Linked DNA regions of Homo sapiens: regions 2 and 3 are each linked to region 1. The links are contacts of gene promoters, found by promoter capture Hi-C in blood cells and fetal thymus (Javierre and others, 2016). All regions are on one chromosome and are shown on one strand. Each heading gives the region's core, a stretch centred on a gene start or on the middle of the fragment in contact. The rest is flanking DNA. Distances are from core to core; before and after follow the strand shown.

The links. Contacts are between HindIII fragments. The CHiCAGO score rates a contact against its expected background, and 5 or more counts as called.
Region 2: a contact is called between the fragment with the promoter of SALL4 here and the fragment with the promoter of KCNG1 in region 1, in 4 of 17 cell types (non-activated CD4 T cells, M0 macrophages, total CD8 T cells and 1 more). The highest score is 7.8, in non-activated CD4 T cells.
Region 3: a contact is called between a fragment that was not itself captured here and the fragment with the promoter of KCNG1 in region 1, in 4 of 17 cell types (M0 macrophages, naive B cells, monocytes and 1 more). The highest score is 7.0, in M0 macrophages.

Annotation. Positions count from the first base shown.
Region 1 is chr20:51,021,391-51,025,635 of GRCh38, forward strand. KCNG1 (potassium voltage-gated channel modifier subfamily G member 1) reads right to left here and starts at 1,717. Exons shown (of 3, transcript NM_002237.4): 1 at 1,480-1,717. RefSeq lists a silencer at 1,646-1,815. The HindIII fragment of the contact is 2,899 bases long and covers 1-2,453 here.
Region 2 is chr20:51,800,798-51,805,042 of GRCh38, forward strand. SALL4 (spalt like transcription factor 4) reads right to left here and starts at 1,724. Exons shown (of 4, transcript NM_020436.5): 1 at 1,482-1,724. The coding sequence starts at 1,611. RefSeq lists enhancers at 143-785, 1,429-2,070. The HindIII fragment of the contact is 4,794 bases long and covers 1-4,245 here.
Region 3 is chr20:51,592,181-51,596,425 of GRCh38, forward strand. No RefSeq gene overlaps it. Among named protein-coding and RNA genes, the nearest start is that of NFATC2, 52 kb to the left of the region's middle. The HindIII fragment of the contact is 1,237 bases long and covers 1,474-2,710 here.

The DNA.
Region 1 (4,245 bases), core at 467-2,966:
AAGAAGGACAGCATGCCCTAGCCACAGTGCCGACCGCAAGGCCCCAATCAGCAGTGCCAAACTTTTCTTGGAGATGTGCTGCCGGTGAGGCTCTTCATAGGGACTCTGCCATCATGGGTATGGGGGTATCAAACACACACTAATGAATAAACCTCTGCTCAGATTCATAGGGCAGGAACTTCCCCCACCCCACAATGAATCAGACCAGTTCCTGCTCCCTCCTCTTACTTCCCCCTGTACTTATCTCAGGGAGTCAGCAAAGGGGGTGGGGGCGTCTGTGTCTGTCTCCCTCTTCTATGTGTCTGTCATTTACCTGGGTAACTTTGGTGCCTGGCACCCTTTAAGTGCTTAATAACAGCGAGTGCTTAAGAAAATGCCTGCTGAATGGACAACCTAACTCATAAACCCCATTGGTGGGAACCTGCATTCCTCAGTAATGTCGGATCAGTGTTTCTCAACTCCTCCCCACCCTACCCCATCACCCGCCCCTAAGGAGCTTTGAAAAGATCTTTTCTTCCTATTCTAGAACCAATTCCAGCTTCCACACCTCCCACCTTGAGAAGGAATGCATTAGATGAACCAAGACTTCTGCCTATATACATGGGCTGCTACAGTTGGCCACCCCGGCAGTCTGCGGCCTCCCAAGCGGGGGCCTGGGTCTTAATCCTTACTTCTCTCTAAGCTGCATGAAGGGTGCCCCCATTCCATCCCTCTTCACTTCTCCCCAGCATAGCGCCTCCATAAATGTTTGTGAACTGGATGAATGACTGTTGAGCGCTTGGTATGATGAGCTGCTTACAATAGGTGCTCAACCAATCTTTGTCCAATCTATGAATGAATGAATGAACTTCACCCTTTTCCTTCCATACCTCCGGGCTGAGCCTCTCTCCCACATGGAAACCCTAAGGCTGAGACCACCACCTTCCTACCAGTTCCTGGGGGTGCCCAGTGAACTGTCTCAGTATCCCCAGTGCCTAGCACACAGTAGGCGCTCAATAAACGCTTGCTGTGTTCATAATGAATGACTCAATCAGGCCCACGGTGGGGGTGAAGGGGGGCTCCATACTGTGCCTAAGGATACAGTGAATGAGCAAGTGACACACACTCCCCCACCCCAATCCCTAACTCTCCTTCCTCCCAGGATCGGGGGAGAAACCTCGGCCCACAGCCGGGATGCGCCCCCGCCGGGGTCACCGCGGCGGCGAACGTCCCGGACTTCGCATCCCGGTGACCCCTTGGGATGAACCGAAGCCGGACCCGCACCTTGGCCGTAACAAGCGCGCTCCACGCCGCCACGCACCAGCGGTGACTCCCGAGTCCTCTGTCGCCCTGGCCTCCCCGCAGGCGGGTTTCGAGGCCCCCGCAGGGAGTTCAGGGCCACGGCCACGTGCAGCCGCCCCCGAGCCCGAGTTTGCAGGCTCGGGGTCCGGTTCGCGCTTCGGTGGCGCCCGGCGAGGCTGCAGCGCGCAAAGTTCCCACCTCAAGTTCCCGTCGCGGCGTCCCCGCCTCGGAGTTGGCCCGGCCGCGGCTTCCGTTCCCCCCGGCTGCCCACGGGTCCGGGGCGAGGACGCGAGAGGGGCCTGGAAGTCGCCCGGGGAGCCCGCTCTGCCTCCCGGAGCCGCCGCCAAACTTCGGTCCCGGGGCCCGGCTCAGCTCCCGCCCTCGGAGCCACGGCCGCCCCGTCTCTGCCTCCCGGTCCCCGCCGGGCTCCGAGTGCGCCGGGAGCGCGGCGCAGCAGCCGCCGAGGGAGGGAGCGAGGCAGGAGGCGGGACGGAGGGAGGGGACTGAGCGCGGGGCGGGGAGAAGGGGCGGGCAGCCGAAAGCGCAGCGCCTGGCCTCGCCTCGCTTCGGGACAGTGGCAGCGGCGCCACCGTCACGGGGCGTCCAGGCGCCCAATCGGGACCCCGCACCTTGGATCCGGGGGCCCTGGCGCGCCTGCTGGATTGCGCTCCTCGCGGCCAGTTCCTGAGCCCGCGTCCGGGACTGCTCGCGCTACGCCCTCCCTCCCGTTGCCTTCTTCCCCGTCTGCTCTCCCAGGAGCGACCACCCTGCGGCCCCTTCGCCTGCACGCGACAGCCTTCAAGGTCCCCGCGCTCCGCTGCCCTGGAGCTTCACGCACCAGGCGGCGCGGCAGCCTCCTAGGGTCGCGCGCCCTGTCAGCTTTCCCCGCGGTGCAAGTGCTCCGGTGGTCCCGGGTCCGCGCCCCTAGCAGCACCGCCCCAGGGTCTACATGTGCTAGATATTAAAACCCCACTCTCCGCTGCCCCGGGGCCGCGCTCCACGCGCTTACACATCCTGGGAACCACATGCGCCATGTCTCCTGCCTTTCCCTGGAAGTCCTGGAAGTCCAAGTGCACTGCTGCCTCTGGGTCCCTCGCCCCCCTACCCCGGGCAAATACTGCATCCTTGAGGCCCTCCACGCGCTGCTGCCCTGGAGCCGAACGCTCCAAGCAAGCTTCCACATCCTGGGGGCCATATATCGCGCGCCTTTTCTCGACCTCCTAGACCAATGTTGCCCTTGGGCCCTTCCTGCCACCGCCACCCAGGGACTGCCAGCATCTTGCTGTGCCAAATTCCTAGGGCCAGTACGTACCGTGCCAGGTGTTTTCCCTTCCAGTCCCGCGGGGCCGAGGCCCCAGAGCCCTCCCGGGCTAGCAGAGCCGCACTTCGTCGTCCACTCCCCTGGCCGGTGCAGGGCACTTGGACCAGGTCCTGGGGTCTTGCTCCCAGTGTGGCCGCCTAGCCTCGGAGTTGGTAGGATGCTGCACAGATGCTGGAGGTTGGGTTGGAGGGATCTATTGGGTTGGAGGAATCTACTGAGTTGGAGGGACCTATTGGTTTGGAGGGATCTGTGCTGCTGGCAGGGCTGGCCTCTTAGGGTGGCTTGCCTTGCACTCCGTTCCTCTTCTCCTTTCTGTCTCTTGCACTCCGTTCCTCTTCTCCTTTCTGTCTCTTGCACTCCGTTCCTCTTTTCCTTTCTGTCTCTACTGCCTTTGCCTATCATCAGAGAACCAAGAAAGGACATGAAGAAACCCTGCTGCCGACCAGCCTGAGGCCTTCTGCTTGAGTGGGGCTCGGGTTGGGGAGTCGTGGGTGCTCATTAAGTGGGTTAGGGTTAACCCTAAGAAATGAGCGCAGGGCACACTAGCCTGCGCGGCAGTCCCAGCCGGGTGGAGCATAGGAGTTCCAGGTTATAGTGCACTATGATGGCACCACTGCAATCCAGCCTGCGTGACTGAGCGAGATCCAGCCTCTAAAACAACAAGAATAAAAACACTGGCTTACTGGTGAGGTGGAGGCCTGGACAGACAAGGATCTGCCTAAGGACCTGTTTCCAAGAGCTCACCTTCTACTGGGGGCTTGGCAGAATTGGGAAACTGCTGAAATACGTGATTGCAGAATGAAGCCAGAGAGGCCACTTTAGATAGAATAATGGGGGAGGGCTCCTGTGGAGGTGATGGTTACATGGAGCCCTGAGCCAGAAGGAGCCCATCTGGCAAGATGGGAAGAGAGCTTTCTAGGTGGACAGAACATCAAAGGCACTGGCCTTCAAGCAGGAGAGAAGGAGGCATGTCTGAGAAACATCAAAGAGACCAACCAGCAGTGTGGGGGAGGGGCCTGAGTGGGGTGGGGTGGGCTTTTGTTGTCAGAGGGTCCCTGGATTACATATTGAGAAACACTCCTCTTGTGGTGGATCAGGCTTCTGCCTTCCTTTCCCATCTGAAATTTTTTTTTTTTTTTTTTTTTTTGAGACATAGTCTCTCTGTGTCTCCCAGGCTGGAGTGCAGTGGTGTGATCTCAGCTCACTGCAACTTCCATCCCCCTGGGTTCAAGCGATTCTCCTGCCTCAGCCTCCTGAGTAGCTGGGACTACAGGTGTGTGCCACCATGCCCAGCTAATTTTTGTATTTTTAGTAGAGACGGAGTCTCACCATGTTAGCCAGGCTAGTTTTGAACTCGCAACCTCAAGTGATCCGCCAGCCTCAGCCTCCCAAAATGCTGGAATTACAGGCGTGAGCCACTGCACCCAGCCAGAAAATTGCTCTCTATCTTGTTTTTGAGACAGGGTCTGACTCTGTCACCCGCTGGAGTGCAGTGGTGCAATCATAGCTCACTGTAACCTCTAACTCCTGGGCTCTAGGGATCCTCCTGCCTCAGACTTCTGAGTAGCTGGGACTACCACACACCACCATGCACCACTAATTTAAAACAAAATATATTTTTTGCAGAGACAGGCGGGTCTGGA
Region 2 (4,245 bases), core at 474-2,973, 780 kb after region 1:
GCGCTGACCACCCGGCGCCCCGAAAACGCCCAGCCATCCCCTCCGTCAAGCCGATCCTTTTAATTTGCCCTGGAAAAATGTTAAACGGGGAATTCTATTGACGTATTATAAACTTGGGAAATGTATTACATTCAGTCTCCGACAAAAAGGCGGGGATACGGAAGCCAAAAAGTGGCGACCGTCTTCTCGGGAAACCCCGGGTATCAGAGATGGTCTCTGAGAGTCCTCCGGGGTTGCCGCGCACACCCGTCTGCTGCAGGGAAATTAGAAAGCAGGCGGGGAGCGGAGCGACGAACAAGGCCGGAGAGGAGGCTACAAATCCCCCCTCCCCCCACGCGCACGCTAAAAACTTATCAGGCGACAATTTGGCGGGCCGGGATGGAGACGAGATAGTGGAAAACCGCCTCGCTCCTAAAACCTCCGCGGTGAAGTGATGAAGTGGGAACAGAGTTGGCCCCGCCGTTCCTGGCGCGGCTGGGGTCCCGAACTCCCCTCGATCTGGGAAACGCTGGCCGCGGAAGCGTGGGCCAGGTCAGCCGCGGGAGTTCGCTCTGGCCCCCCACCTCTCCCCTTTCACACCCAAGCGCAAATGTGGAAAGCCGAGCGCTCCAGAAAAGCCACGCAAAACGGGAGGCCGGTGCACCCCAGTGGGGCTGCCGCGCGCCCGCCACCCCGGCCACTGGGGGCTCGCACCCTCGGGCTTGCCGCGGTTATTTTTAGGAAGTCGGAAATCAAAGATGGCTGGAGGTCAGGCCCCGAAAGGTTAGGGCGAAGATCGGCAGGCGGCGCAGCCCGGGCAGAAAAGGCGAAATCCAGAAAAGAAAAAAATTTTAAAGGGAAACATTGAGCCCTCCTCCCCCACCTCTCTGGGCCCTCCAATCCCCTGCGCAGCGCGGGTGGCCCGCACCCCAGCTCCTGAGGGTGGGGAGAGGTCGCGCCCCCTCCCCCCACTTGGCCCGGGAGGGGCGCGTGCAACAGATCGTCCTCCTCCGGGGGGTCTTCCAGGGGTGCGCCCCTCCTCCAGCCTCCAAGAAAAGCCCCAAGGGGCTGGTGGAGAGGGTGGGGATCCCCCGGGGTTCTTTCTTTTGAGAGCGACGCGAGGGAGGGGGACCTAAGTTACAAGGGGGGGGGGTAACACCAGTGAGGGGAGTGGAACCAATTAAGTGAGGGGCAGAGGACAAGGAGAAGGGAACCTTTCGGGAGCGAGAACAGAGGAGCGAGTGGGGGTCAATTTTACAATTAGGGGAGAAAGCTGGGGGTGAAACTTACACAAGAGGGGAGAAGAGGAAAAAAGTGTGAAATGTGCAAAAGGCGGGGTGGTGGGGAGAGGAGGAGACCTCTCCTCCCGGGCACTGAGCCCCCAAATCTCGGCTCCTGAATTTGCGCTGGACGCCGCCCGCTCCCCGAAGCCTGCGCCCTCGAGGATCCCGCGTACGTCCGGGAAGCTCCCCTCCCCGGGCGGGCGCCCCAGCCCCACTCACCCAGCTCCCCCGCCGCGGGCGCCGCTGGGGCCGCATCTGCAAACTCCGGGGTCTGCTGCTGCGGCTGCTGCTCGCCCTGGTCCTCCTCCGAGTTGATGTGCTGGGGTTTCGCCTGCTTGCGCCTCGACATGGTGCGAGCATCGGGGCGCCGGGAGAGCCGCAGTTATTTGCCCTCTCCGCCACAAATTCCTGGAGTTGGGAAATTTACCCCCCTTCGGCCGGAACGCGCATGTCCCAGTAATTATTATTATCAATAATGCATTGCGATTTATCATGAGCCCTGACAGCTGATTGGCCTGGGTCCAAGACCTCAGAGATCATTTAAATAAGCCCTCATTGATCAGGGAGGGGTGAGGCATTCTGGGCTTTGTAGTCCGGGCCTACTTGTGACAAAGGCGTGTTCATCAGGGGAGCGCAGCTAATTAGCATCCGGGCTCAGATTGGCTGGGGCGGGGACGAAATCAGAGGGGGACCCATCCTTGCTCCAGCTATCTCAGTCCTTGGAGAGGAAAAGAAAATGGGGAGAAATGCGTACTCATTAAAAAGTAGGAGCTTACGTAGAAGTTTTGGAACGGCTTTATTTGGTAGTTACTTGCTCCAAAGATTACTTGGTAAGGTTGATGTCCACCAGCCGAGAAGGGAGATCTCTTCACAGTGGAATATTTTGGCTCAGTTTTCACATCTACACGCACACACATTCCCCCAAACCTGAGATGTGACCCGTGTCCCCTCCCATCTTTTTGATTAAAAATGTTTAAGTTGAGTCTCGAGATAACTGAAGAATGATGAATGGTGGTGTTTTCAGCCCTCCCACCCATCTCAACTCTTAAAGTGAGCTCGGAACTTCCAAAATTTCAGATACCCCACCACCACCATGACTTACCTCCTTTAAAAGCTGATTAATAGCCTCCAGGATTCCTGTTCACAAAGACTGGTTTGTGGTTACAATGCAAACCTTGATTTTTTTTTAACTTCAAAATGACTGGCTACTAAATATAGAAATGGCAAATGATAAGCAAGCATAGTCAGAGATAATATCAAAACAGCAAGCAATTGCATTTTTTTCCCCAGGAGCCATAAATGCCTGATAACATCATATTTTATTACTGAGACAATGCTCTTGCATCTCCCATGGAATGGCAATGGGGCACTGTCACAGTATCTGGTTGTTACTAATCACTATTGGAATTTTTTTGTGCAATACACACATTATTACAGAAAAGGTGTATCGTTCAAAGTGATTGTATCATTGACACATGATGCCTGGAATTTTTTAAAGTGGGGCTTGTGTGTGTGTATATGATATATTACATGTATACACATTTATACCGTAAATTCATGTATACTTAATTTGGCTAACTGCTTTACACAATGTACATGCTCAATAAATGTTAAATGAATGATGAAATCATCAACCTGCTAAGTCTTTGATTGGTCTTTCCATAACTGCTCTGGGCATGCGTCTTTGTTTGGCATTTACTTCATTGTAAGGGACTGTGCAGATATAAACCCTCCCTCCACATTTGTGCATTGCATTCTCTTGATTAGTTATTCATCACGTTCCCAGCTTGTAAACTCATCAGGAATACAAGCAAAATGGAATGCTGGGCTCATCAATGTGTTCACCTGGGTATTTGGACAACCCAAGGCAGAAAATAAATCAGCTTGATCATCTTTTTTATATTCGTGGCCATCAGTAAAAACTTGTTGAAGGAAGATTAACCTTCAATTTTTGAGTCTCTGAAAAAGTCTTGCCTTATTTTATGTATAATATTTAAAGCAAGTAAGACAGAATTATAGCCAACAGCCAGATTGAAAAGGTAAGAATTTGGTTTAATAATACATAGAAGCAGTTTAGAATTCTGATACTGAGTAAAAAGGCCAATTAGCACCTGCCTTGCTGACTAATCTACTAATATTCTCAACACCTTTTCTGTGTAAGATAGTGTGGCAGGAGATCTAACTTACAAATCTAAACGAATGTGCAGTGGGTTTATGGCTCAAAAAATACTATTGGGTTAAGGAAAATTTCATTTATATAGTTGTTTATATTTATTTTAGTAGATGATAGTTGTAACATGTTAGCCTTACTACGAGACAAAATTGTGCCGCTTGACTCTCCAAGTGATAGTAATAATAATAATTGATTGAGCCCCTTGTACATGCCACAGACTGCATTAAATGAATGCACACCGCCTTGTTTTATCTTCCCATGGAGGTTGGCCCTATTGTCCTCTCCATTTTGAAACTGAGGCTCAAAGACATGAAGTGACTTAATTAGAAACTGGCTGAGCTGGTGGTCAGTTTCTAAGCCGGTGGTCAGTTTCTAAGTCTGACTCCAAAATTCTATCACATCCTAATACCTGTCTTCCAACTATAGCTGAATATAGAGAAGATAGCTAAAGAAGAAAAATCGGAGTACAGTAAACTAAATTTAAAGTGTCCTAGAAAAATCTTGGGTCTTCAGAAATCACTCCAACAGATGAAGTCAAGAAGTTTCCCTCAAATGGAAACCTTCCACAAATGTCATATCAAGAAAAGCAGGACACAGTACATGTTTTGAATCTACCCCCAGTTTAACAGCTGCAGCCAGGAGCCAGTTGGTGGAAAATAAAGTAAGTCCTAGAGCAAAGCAGGGGATGAACGGAGGGCATAGCAACAGGCAAGTCCGTAATCAAAAGTTGTTTCAGGCTGAGCACAGTGTCTCACGCCTGTAATCCCAGCACTCTGGGAGGCCAAGACTGGCGGGTCACCAGAGGTCAGG
Region 3 (4,245 bases), core at 842-3,341, 570 kb after region 1:
CGAAGAACATGAGCCAGTTAAGTTTTCTCTACCTATTCTTCCTCCGCACTCACCTCCCAGTTCTAGGCAGCTGGTTTATGCAGCCTGCTTTCCAGGACTGTCGAAGGAAAAGGCACCTCTGCCAAAAGCACCCCAGGCTACAGGGCTGAACAGAGACCCATCGTATCATTCGCTGGAAAAGCAAGAGGAAACTTCATCCAAGGACTGGCTTCTTCTCTCCTTTATTTACTAGTGTGGTTATGTCAATAAAGTCATGCAGAACCACTGGGCATGGGAGTGGGTTGGTTCCAATGGAAAGGGTTGCACCTGAGCCTCCTCGGACATAGACGCAGAAATGAGAACAGGTGGGAAAGGGTCGGTGAGGCGGGGTAGAAGAGAAGGAGTGAAAGGGGCCCTCGAACATGGTTCAGTGTAGAGGGCTAACTTTAATAATGCTTGCTCGTTCTGCAACGGACTCTTTAGTCCGAATGCCAAGGTCTGCAGGCCCTCCCTATCTCCCTGACCTCACCTCCTCCATGCCCCACCCCCTCGGTCTCAGCACTCCAGCCCTGTGCCCCTCCGACATGCCCAGCCTTTCCTACCCCGGGGCCTTTGCACACACTGCAACCACAATGTCACTTCCCCAGATCTCTCTGAATGACGCTCTGCCTTTGCAAACTTGCCCAGGGTCCTGTGGCCTTAGCCATTGTTCAAAGTTAGAAATGAACCTCCCCCCAGTATGCTAGGCTGGCCTGGGCATCCCTGACTAGAGAACATACCCCTCATGGGGCAGCCCAAGGAGAAAGCAAAGGGACTCCTCAAGAATCCATTGACTGGCTGGGCACGGTGGCTCATGCCTGTAATTCCAACACTTCGGGAGGCCAAGGCAGGCAGATCACTTGAGATCAGGAGTTTGAGACCAGCCTGGCCAACATGGTGAAACCCCGCCTCTACTAAAAATACCAAAATTAGCCAGGTGTGGTGGCACGTGCCTGTAATCCCAGCTACTCGGGAGGTTGAAGCAGGAGAATTGCTTGAACCTGGGAGGCAGAGGTTGCAGTGACCCAAGATCGTGCCACTGCACTCCAGCCTGGGTGACAATGCAAGACTCTGTCTCAAAAAAAAAAAAAAAAAAAAGAATCCATTTACTTGGGGATCTTGGAGAATAGAATTGGCCAATCATTAAAAACTTTTTTTTTTACATTAAATCCACTAATGGAATAGAAAGCAGAATTTCCTTGAGATTAAAAAAAAAAACCCCACAAGGCATGAGAAAATTGAGGGGGACGGTGTGGCTGGCACCCACATGGATAGGTTGGGGGGCATCACTACCAGCTTCTGCTCTTACAGGGTCCAGAGGTGCACAGCACCCTCCTTCTCATCCTGCAGCCCTCTGCTCCAGTGGGCCCATCTCTGACTCCCAGCACTTTCCCCACCTTTATTCCTACCTGGTTGTCATCCTCTGCCTAACCCTTAGGCTGCTTTATCTTAGGAAGCTTTCTCTCCACCTGATGTTAGTCTTAATCTGTTTATTGTCTTTCACACACATACACACACACACACACAGAGTGTAATCACTATGAGGGCAGACACTACGCTTGTCTGGTTCCCTGCCACGCCTCCAGCCCCAAGAACAGTGCCTAACACATAGGAAGTGCTCAGCAAATATTTGATCAATGAAGGAATAAAAATGTCAGCATATTCTGCACATCTCCTACCCATCCCCCAACACTTTTTCCATTCCTTCTGGACTCTGCAATCTTTCTCAAAGGAAATAAAAAATAGTCCTGGGCTTATCTGGACCTGATCTGATCAAAGAAAAAAAATGTATTTCTTTTAAATCTCTTGAAAACAAACACCACAGGCTTAGAACACCAAGTTCTTAATGTAAGCAAACAGAACCTGCTGGCTGAATTCTAAGAAATGAGCCCTGGCTTGGTATCAAGCATAGGTTGTGGGGCCGATGACTTCACATGTGACTCAGTTACCCCAAATTTCAGGGGGAATCCATTTCAAAATCAAAACGTCAACATGGAAAGTGGAGGGTGGCTTTGTTTGGGCATTCCTGCAAGAAGGCAGGCTTTCTGAAAAGATGCTATGTTATAGATAACTCATCCACAAAAGGGGGGCAGGAGGGATGGGGAGAAACCCCAGGATTGGGTGTATTTCTCGGCTAAGGCTTTGGATGCAAACTGATCCGGGAATGCGTGATCCTCCAAAAATCCACCAGCCCCCAAAGTGCTTGAGTTACCCCTCCGACCACAGCCACATGGAAAATGAAATTAAATCCCACGGAAAGATTTGACTTTTTTAACATTATGCAATGTTTGGGTGAAAAAAGGGGGGTGGGGAGAGGGAGATCAGAAAAAAATTCATCTTTTTCCCAGAGTTTAGCAGAGCTATTTCTAGCTTTTAATGATACATTTCACCATCACTTCATGGGTAGTTTTGAGAGGCGCGAAGGCGGGACCGGTTCTGTTATGTAACCCATTTAAAGTAGGAAATTAGCAAGTCCTGAATGAATTCTGTCACTGTGCTCCCACTTCTGGAAAATTTGGAGCGACTACAGTTCTATTTTGAGGTGAGCAAATCCATCATTTATAGACCTCCTCACAAATACCACAGGGCTTCATGTCACCCTGAAAAGTTTCATAACAAAAACACTAAAAGTACTTGGGGTGTTGGTACATTTCGTCTCAAAACCTTATTAGACTGAACAGTGAATTGGCAAAGCTTCCTACTTGCCAATTATTCAAAAATGCAAATATCCAAGAGCAAATAAATATTCATCTCTCACCCTCCCTGCCTTTTTTTTTTCCTTTTTTTTTTTTTTAACTAAGTCCAGCAAAATATTCTGGTCAACAACATGAAAAGAAATGTCTGTTTTTCACGGAGCCTCTGGCCATGAAATAAATTCTGAAGCTATGAAAGCACAGTCTTGAAACTCAGGGCAGTTGGGCACGTGGGGTCCGGCTGGTTGTGGAAAACAGGAAACAGCAATGTCTTTCAGTCCTCAAGTTCCCCCTAGCGGCTCCGGCGGAGGAGTGTCCGCACATGGACGGAAGTTCACTGCAGGCAAATGCAGAGGCTTAAGGTCGTGCAGGGATAGCACACGTTTAAGGGAAAGCATGGTCGGTCCCTACCTTTGAAACCACATACCTTCCTTTTGCTGCTGTCATGAGATAACACAACTAAGTTACAATTATCTTTCTAATCTATATACTGAGGATGGCCCTTTCCATTGAGAACCAAAAAGAGGGAACCAGCAGCTCACACTGCAGACAGCCACTAATTACACCATTTGGTATAGTATTTGGTATAGTAGGCGGAGGCATAACTTGCTTCCTGAGACACACGAGCTTATACCTCCGGGCCCTTTTACAAATACAGACAGACAAATGGTACAGCTGACACGTGCCAATTAAATTAGGGTTTCTCTGGCTGGGCGTATGGGCTCATGCCTGTAATCCCAGCACTTTGGGAGGCTGAGGCAGGCAGATCACCTGAGGCCTGGAGTTCGAGACCAGCCTGGCCAACATGGTGAAACCCCGTCTCTACTAAAGATACAAAACTTAACCGGGCGTGGTGGCAGGCCCAGCTACTCAGAAGGCTGAGGCAGGAGAATCGCCTGAACCTGGGAGGCGGAGGTTGCAGTGAGCCAAGATTGCACCACTGCATTGCAGCCTAGATAACAGGGCAAGACTCCACCTCGAAAAAAAATAATTAGGGTTTCTCAATGTTGGCACTTTTGACACTTTGGGCTCTGTTGTGGGGGCCACCCTGTGAATCACAGGGTGTTCGGCAGCATCTCTTGCTTGTAGCACTCCTCTTCCCCGAGTTGTAACAACTGAAAAGGTCTTCATACCGCCACGTGTCCCCCAAGGGACAAAAATCACCCAATTGATTTCAACTACTTCCTACACAAAAGCTTTTTTTGTTTTGTTTTGTTTTGAGACGGAGTCTTGCTCTGTTGCCCAGGCAGGAGTGCAGTGGCACAATCACGACTCACTGCAGCCTCGACCTCCGAGGCTCAGGTGATTGTTCCGCCTCAGCTTCCCAAGTCGCTGGGACCACAGGCTTGAGCCAGTACACCCAGCTCGTTTTCTTGTATTTTTTGTACATGAGTTTCACCACGTTACCCAGGCTGGTCTCAAACTCTGGGCTCAAGCAATCCTCCTGCCTTGGTCTCCCAAAGCTGGGATTACAGACATGAGCCACTGCGCCGGGCCTTAAAAATTTTTTCTGCCTAAAACTTAACTGACTGTT